Regions from separate parts of the Homo sapiens genome. Here region 1 is linked to region 2. Evidence: promoter capture Hi-C in 16 types of primary human blood cells and fetal thymus (Javierre and others, 2016). All regions are on one chromosome and are shown on one strand. The core of a region is centred on a gene start or on the middle of the fragment in contact, and the rest is flanking DNA. Distances in the headings are between cores, read along the strand shown. Region 1 holds the start of NLRP1 (NLR family pyrin domain containing 1). Region 2 holds the start of MED31 (mediator complex subunit 31).

Region 1 (3,763 bases), core at 815-3,314, 1.1 Mb before region 2:
TCAGCTTCCCCATCTGCCACATGGGGAGGGATGCAATCTCAGCACCGGAAGGTCCCTGAAAGATCAATTTCAGGCCTACCTCTCACAGCCCATCCTGGCTCCCCTATCCTTCCTCTGCTGTCCCCCATGTCAGGTCCCCATGCACAGACATGATCCTCTGGGTGGGGCCCACCAGCTGATTCACAGCTCCACCCAGGGCTGTCAGCCTGCCTCAGCAAGCCTCACCTCTCCAGCGGCGTCCAGATGTGTCAGGCAGCTGTCTCAAAACCCTTCTCTCTGAGCCCTGGGTGCACCCCGCCGGCAATTCATGGATCCAGGGCATTAGCACTGCGGTGGAGGTGGGTTGGCTGGGAGACCCCAGGTGGGGTTCACTTGGGCTGTAGGGGAATGAGGGAGAGTGGCCTACAGGAAAGAGACAAAGAGGTTGGAGACACATCAGAGGGGCAGGGGCAAGGTGCCAGGGAACTGAGCTGGTCTCCTCTCTCAACCAAGAGAGGTCAGGATACACCAGTGAACCCGCTGCAGCCCTCTACAACTTCCTCTAGAGGCTTGTCTGAAGAATGATGTTCTTATAGATACTGCTAGGCAAAAAATCCTCATCTAGGATCAGGAAATTTGCATATCTGTCTTGGTCCTGACTATCTCCCTGTGTAAATCACTACTCCTACTGAGCCTCAGCTGTGCTTTATTGGGCCAACGGCATCTGCAACCCAGGGTGGCTAATAGTAATAATAACAGCAGCAGCAGCAGCAGCAACAACAGCAATGGGAGATCTTATTTATTGAGCACTTACTGTATATCAGACTCTGTGCTAAATGTTTAACCTGGATGATCTCTTTTAACCCTCACACAGCCCAGGGAGGCGGGCTCTCACTCTCCCATTTTGCAGACAGAGAAATAGGCAGAGAGCAGTGAAGTGATTGGCCCAGGGTGATAGTGCCAGGACTGGTGATAGTGCCTGACTCCCAAGTCCGTGCTCATAACTACAATGCCAGGCGAGTACCGGGAATGCACTTGAATAGAAGAGGGTGTGGGGCTCTGAGGTGCAGCAAGGGCCCCCCCAGCAAGCCTCCTGGCTCCAGCATAGTCTGGGGCCTGGATCCCCCTTTGAGAGGGCAGTTCCATGTCACTGCTCAGAGGAAGGCCTGGCAGGGAGGGCTCAGTGGTGGGGTCCCAAGAGGGCAGGGCAGGCATGAGGGCCAGGGGATGTCCCGCGGGCAGTGGGGTCCTCTGTCCACTCACCTGCCCCTTCCTGGGCTTGGGCGCACAGTGACCTCAGCCCCATCTGCTCCCAGGTATGGAGGGCTAGGTCCCAGGCCCGCTGCTCCCCATACTGAGCCACCAGGTACGAGGCCACCTCCATGCCACTCGTCTTCTCTGGCTGAGCGGGTGTCTCACCCGAAGAGCTCCTGGAGTGCGCTTTATTGGCGAGCAGAAGCTGGAACTCCTTCAGCTCCTCCTTCTTCAGGAACTCCAAGTAACAGGCCAGGCGGCCCCAGGCTCCGCCAGCCATCTCTGTCCCGGAGTTAAGAGGGTGTCTGGGGGATGTTCCCAGGTGGTGAGGGTATCAGGCAGGCAGAGAACAGTGCTGTCCTTTGCCTTGGCTCTTACCGTCTCTTATTCAGCATTCGGAACCCAGTTTTATAAATCCCAGGGCACCTACAGATAGACGCCGATAGAGGGGGAGTGGTAGGAAAAGCCAGGGGAGGGAGGAGCCCAGAGGGGCCTGCAAGACACTGGAAGAAGTCAGCTGATAGGGAGGTCCTGGGATGGGGTCCAGGGCCAGGCAGGGAGGGTGAGGGTGAGGGGAGATGTGGTGACGGGAGATGGGGTGTGGGCAACGCTCACTGTTCTGTGTTCCTCAGATTCTTCCCTCTCCTGGGTCCTGGACTCCTGAGATCAACCCTTGAGCTGCAAGGCTGAGAAGAGGTGGGGTGGGAGGAGCCGCAGAGCAGGGAATGGGCTTTCAGAACCCAGAGTGGAGCCCCGGGCTGCTGGCTCCCAGGTTTCTTCAGACCTCTCCAGGCCCTGGGGCACCAGCCAGCAAGAACAGCGCCTAGTCAACAAGAGCAGGAAGGAAACGTCACCCAGAGGAAACCCACAAGGGGCGTGGCCAGGGGGTAGGATCAAACCAGGCCTGGGTAGGCCAGACTCAGAGTCACAGATTCAGATGGGCCACATGGCATCTATAGGCGGACCAGGAGCACAGGCCCAGACCAGCTGACGCTGCAGCAGGTACAGGCCCATACTAAACACGGTGTGTGCACCTCCACATGGGCACTCCGCCAGCCCATCATCTAGAGCCTGTCTGCAGAGCCAGGATGCAGACTCTCCGAGCAGTTGTGTCTGCAGCCCAGGCCCAGCCTCTCAGGATGGGTGGGGCCCCCTGTGTCTGCCCGGGCAGCTCCTTATTGGGAAACATTAGAACTGGGCCAGGGAGCATTTTTCCCAGCCTCTCATGGTTTTGGGAGCTTCTTGAGTTGCACTGCATGTCCTGCCATGCTACCAGGGGCACTAAAGCATGTGTCCCAGGCCCAGGGGGCTGTTTGCCTTCTGGGCAGCCCAGCACTTAGCTGGTGAACATTTCCACCTGAAAGCAGAACAGCCCCTTCCTCATTCCTGCAAGCAGGCCTCGGGGAGCCAGGGGCAGACTTCCTCTTTCGTGGAATCTGCAAGATGCCAATGACTTCAGGTTGAGGAATGACATTGCCTACTCATTTGCTGATGTAACACACCACCAGGAATTTCTGGAGATGCTTTGGTTTCACTTGGACTGGCAGAGCCCAGGCTTCAACCCACGGCTTGCTTGGACAAGGACTCCTTATGTGCCTGATTTATTTCTTTGAGCCTCAGTTTGCCCATCTATTAAATGGGACATCATAGGTTTACCAAGAGGCTTCAATTCAGCAAAAGGTCTTAGAGTCTCTCTCTCTTTCCCAGGCTGGAGTGCAGTGGCAAGATCTCGGCTCACTGCAAGCTCCCTCCACCTCCTGGGTTCCAGCGATTCTCCTGCATCAGCCCAGCTTCCTGGGCAGTTGGGATTACAGTCACTCACCACCACGCCTGGCTAATTGTTTTGTATTTTTAGTAGAGATGGGGTTTCACCATGTTAGCCAGTCTGATCCGAGGTGATCCGCCCACTTCGGCCTCCCGAAATGTTGGGATTACAGGTGTGAGCCTCCGTGCCTGGCCTAAATAAATTTTATAAATGTTAGTTTTAAAAAATGGCTAATAAGCACATTGTAGGACATTCTAATATCAGATTGACCAGAAGTGGAAAAGTGCTGTGCTAAAAGTGGGATGATCGGGAGGCTCTGAGCACTCCGTGAAGGACCGTGAGACTCCATGTAGCGGGAGGAATGGCCTGGAGGAGGGCTGTGTGGGCTTTTTTTCCTCCTCACACCAGCCAGTTCTGGCACCAACTCTCTAGACACCAACTGGTGTCCTACAGTGCAATTCTGACACTGACTGCCTGGAGTTGGCATCAAACCTCACAGGTTTAGGGTTTCAGTGAAGAGCTGGCCTCATATCAGATGCCAGTTGCAAATGGGGTGCCCAGACCACTGGCATCTCTGTCTGACTTGGTGACAAATTCAAGGGTTCCCACAGTCCCCGGCAGGTTCAATAATTTGCTGAAATGACTCACAGGACTGAGAAAAGCACTTTATTTATTATTATCGGTTCATGATGGAGGATACGACTCAGGAATAGCCCAACGGAAGAGATGCCGAGGTCAAGGTGTGGGTGGGGGAGGGGCACAGCG
Region 2 (3,954 bases), core at 256-2,755:
AATCTGTAGGTCAAACCAATCCTTAAACTGTGATTTGTTACCCCTAATATAAAGGATCTATTTACATAACACCCCCACCACCAACACACATTGGATTCAAAACACAAGTCCCAGTACGCAATTATATCTATATACCAGCATAAGTGTAATGTCATTCAACTGAGAATGTGTAAAAGTAGATACTATTTTGAACTGCAACTCTTCTGTCAGAAATCATTAATAGCTACTCAATTTAATGAGGTGCTTAACAACTTACAATTAAGGTAATTTGGGTTGGCTAAACATTGCACAAATTCCAACTCCAACTGAAACCGAAGTCGATTTCCAGCATCATCTAGGAGACAAGACAGCAAAAATCATGGAAAACAAAGGTCACTGTATATAATACTGATTTGTAGTAAGGAAAGAGCAATAAAGAAACCTGACTAATGTTGAGATGGTCTTCCTAAACTAGGAGTGGGAGGAGATAAACCTTCCTTCGAAATCTAAGAAAAGCGGAGCCCTGATTAAAAGGAGTAAGTTAGAAGTTTCTCTAAAGTTAAAGAGAAATCATCAAAGAAAACAGCAACACAAACGGAGAATTCCTACCACTCGTGGGCCACTATGTAGGAATTTTAACAGTGATCACTAAGGTAGGCTGTAATAACTGTGGCTTCCCCTATTTTAATAATGCGTTGTAACAACTGTTAACAGTGATTAAGTTTCGCAAACGCTAGGGGCTGAATCAGTAAAGAAAAACTTAGGATGCAAGAGACTGCGGAGAGCCTAAAAGATCATGCAGCGCATGCATATAAGAAGCACCAGGGTCAGGAGATCGAGACCATCCTGGCTAACACAGTGAAACCCCGTCTCTACTAAAAATACAAAAAAAATTAGCCGGGAGCGGTGGCGGGCTCCTGTAGTCCCAGCTACTTGAGAGGCTGAGGCAGGAGAATGGCGTGAACCCAGGAGGCGGAGCTTGCAGTGAGCCGAGATCGCGCCACTGCACCCCAGCCTGGGCGACAGAGCCAGACGCTGTCTCAAAAAAAAAAAAAAAAAGAAGCACCAGTAGCAGAATGATACACAAGTCTGGCGACGATATTTCAAACTTAGGCAAGCTCATGTGAGAAGCAGAAAACCAATCAAGGAGGACACGGTTTAACACACAAGTCCTCTCCCTTAGTCTCACCCACGCCAGGGAGCTGGTGGGGTGGTGTCTGAATAGCAAAGATGTGCGAACAAACCAAATCAGGAAAACTGCAAAGAGTACCTTAGTCTTTCTAGACGCTACAAGAGCCTTCTCTCCTCTCTGTCCAAATATTAACCCTGCCAAGAGTAAGGCCTGGAAGGAGGCCACGGGGAAGAGGTCTGGGTCAAGGAGAGTTCCATCTGCGAAGACTCCAAGATCAGAGAGCTACTCACCTGTCTCCATAGCGACAGCAGCGGCCATAACAAACGAAGACACCAAAACGCCACCAGCCTGACAGAGCAAAAGCCCAGAGACGCGGGCGAAGTTCCGGAAACCACGGCTCCCTCTTCCGGTCCCGGGGCACTGTGGGATATGGGGCGGGGCGGCTCCGCCCATCCCCGACCAGCCCTGGGATGGCTCCACCCGCGCTGGCTCCAAAATAGCGAGGGGGCGGGGCCCGGGCCGTGGGAGCGCCTGAGGGGCAGGAGTCCAGTGTTTTAGCCTTCGAAGGACCATGGTGCTTCCACGTCATCGTGTTGTGGCGCTCCCGGCTATGGCAGTACCGTAGTTTTCCTCTCTTCTGCCTGCGGTGACCATTGGGCTGTAGGGTGCCCCGAGGCCTCCCTGGCCCCCTCACGCCGGCAGAATGGCCTCAGCCCGAGGGGCCAAGCAGTCTTCGCCCCGGGTGGGGACCACCCGCTACACAGAGACGTCCACGGTCCGCGTGGAGACCTCGTCCCACCGCGTGGAGACGTCGTCCCGGCGGGTGGAGACCTCCCAGCGCCGCAGCGAGGGGCCCTCCCTCTCCCCCTCGGGGAAGCGGCTCCCTCGCATCCTCGAGGCGTCCTCCCGGCACGTGGAATCCTCCTCGCAGCGCACGGAAACGACCTCCCGCCACGTCAGAGCCTCGTCCCTGAGGGTGGAGACGTCTCTGCACTGCGCGGAGAGCCCGACCCCGCGGGCCAAGCCGGCCGCCCGCCAGAACGAAAAAACGGCCCGATGAGATGCTGCTTCCCAAAGGCCACCAAGGGGCCAGGGCCCTCAGCCAGGACAGAAAGGCCTCCAGTTGCCAGCCAGCCAGCCAGCTGCCAGGTGGACCAATCATTTTCGGTTTCATGGAAACAAACCATAAATCAATGTAAGAAACAGCCAAGCCGCAGTTTCTGAACACAGCCAACGTTTACTGACCGTCCTGCGTCTTGGACCAGCCTACTTTTGACCCAGTGAACTATTTTCACTTGAAGCCAGCACAGAAGGTTTTCAGGCCCAGGATGCTGTCTAAATCGGGTTGATGGACAAAGAGAGGCTGTTTGAGCCTCTGAGCCAGGTGAGTTTGGGATCCACAGCCCTCAGAAAACCTTCACCCCTTAGGAACAGAGACCAAACTGAAATAATGACCTGTGGAATGATTCCATGCCTGCTAAAAACTCGAGGGACAAGGAACAGACTCATAAATTATTAATTGGCCTTTGTTTATGTTTCAAAGTAAATGGTCGTTTTCTTTATGCTAAGTCTTTGTACCTGGCACCCCCATCCATACACTTTTTTAAGGTAGGTTAGATGTGGTTAAAAATGACAGTAAACCCACCAGCAAGCAAAAATAATCTTAGAAAGTGAGAGGAGGTCACTGAAACCTGGCCTGAGGTTTGAAGAAGATGGAGAAGAGTTATATTTATTGAGAACCGGCTCTGTGCCAGGCACTAGATGTTCCTCCACTTACGATGGGGTTACCTCCCGTTGAAACTATTGTAAGTTGAAAATATGGTAATTTGAAAATGCACTTAATACCCCTAACCTACTAAACATCATGGCTTAGCCTAGCCTACCTTAAACATGCTCAGAACACCTAAAGTTGAGCAAAATCATCTAACAGAAAGCCTGTTTTATAATAAAATGTTGAATATCTCATGTAATTTATTGCATACTGTACTAAAAGTGAAAAAGAATGGTTGTAAGAGTACTTAAAGTACTATTTCTACTGAATGTCACTTTTGTACCATTGTAAAGTCGAAAAATCATAAGTCAAACCATCTTAAGTTGGGAACTGTCTGTATTCTGGGAACTTGGGCTATAGCAGTAAAAAAGGCAAAGTCCCAGCTCTAGTGGAGCTTACACTCTGGTGAAAAGGCAGACAAGCAATGATGAAACAAGACAATTTTCTATTGTGATTAGCACTATGAAGGAAATACATGGGTAATGTGATAGAGAATGGAAGTAAGTGGCTTCTTTTGATAAAATGGTCAGGGAAGGCCTTGCTGATTAGTTAACATGTAATCTGAGATATGTGTGAATGAACAGTGATCTGGAACAGGTGCATTCTAGGCAGAAGAACAGCAAATACAAAGGGTGGATGGGAACCAGCTTTGAATGTTCAAGGAACAGAAAGAAGGCCAGTGTGGCTGGAGTGAGAGAGAAGCAATTATATAGACATGGAAGCAGAACGGAAGAGAGGAGTTAAAAGCAAGCAGGGGCCAGTCCACAGAAGGTCTTCTAAGCCACAGTAAGGAATTTGAGATTATTCTAAGGTCAACAGGAAAACATTGAAGGGTTTCCAACAGGGGAACGACATGATGCCATTTACATTTAAAAAATATCCTTTTGGCTTCTGTGTGTAGAATGTGGGACAGTGGTTCTCAACTAAGTGTGATTTTGTCCCCCAGAGGATATATGGCAACCTCTAGAGACATTTTAGTTTGGTTGAAAAGTTGTTGGGAGGGGGTGGGTGGCACATTAGGTGCTACTGGCACCTAGCGGGTAGAGTCCGGGGATGCCACCTGACATCCTAC

What was found. Contacts are between HindIII fragments. The CHiCAGO score rates a contact against its expected background, and 5 or more counts as called.
Region 1: the fragment with the promoter of NLRP1 here is called in contact with the fragment with the promoter of MED31 in region 2 in 5 of 17 cell types (M2 macrophages, naive CD4 T cells, M0 macrophages and 2 more); the score reaches 7.6 in M2 macrophages.

What each region holds. Positions count from the first base shown.
Region 1 is chr17:5,582,445-5,586,207 of GRCh38, forward strand. NLRP1 (NLR family pyrin domain containing 1) reads right to left here and starts at 2,065. Exons shown (of 17, transcript NM_033004.4): 1 at 1,243-2,065; 2 at 226-402. The coding sequence starts at 1,513. RefSeq lists enhancers at 1,403-2,602, 1,874-2,133, 2,154-2,453. The HindIII fragment of the contact is 12,933 bases long and covers 1-3,763 here.
Region 2 is chr17:6,650,100-6,654,053 of GRCh38, forward strand. MED31 (mediator complex subunit 31) reads right to left here and starts at 1,506. Exons shown (of 4, transcript NM_016060.3): 1 at 1,402-1,506; 2 at 257-334. The coding sequence starts at 1,429. It overlaps C17orf100 (chromosome 17 open reading frame 100), which reads left to right and starts at 1,663. Exons shown (of 1, transcript NM_001105520.2): 1 at 1,663-3,377. The coding sequence starts at 1,815. The coding sequence ends at 2,171. RefSeq lists enhancers at 921-980, 1,071-1,150, 1,221-1,350 and silencers at 1,601-1,680, 1,981-2,030. The HindIII fragment of the contact is 11,591 bases long and covers 1-3,954 here.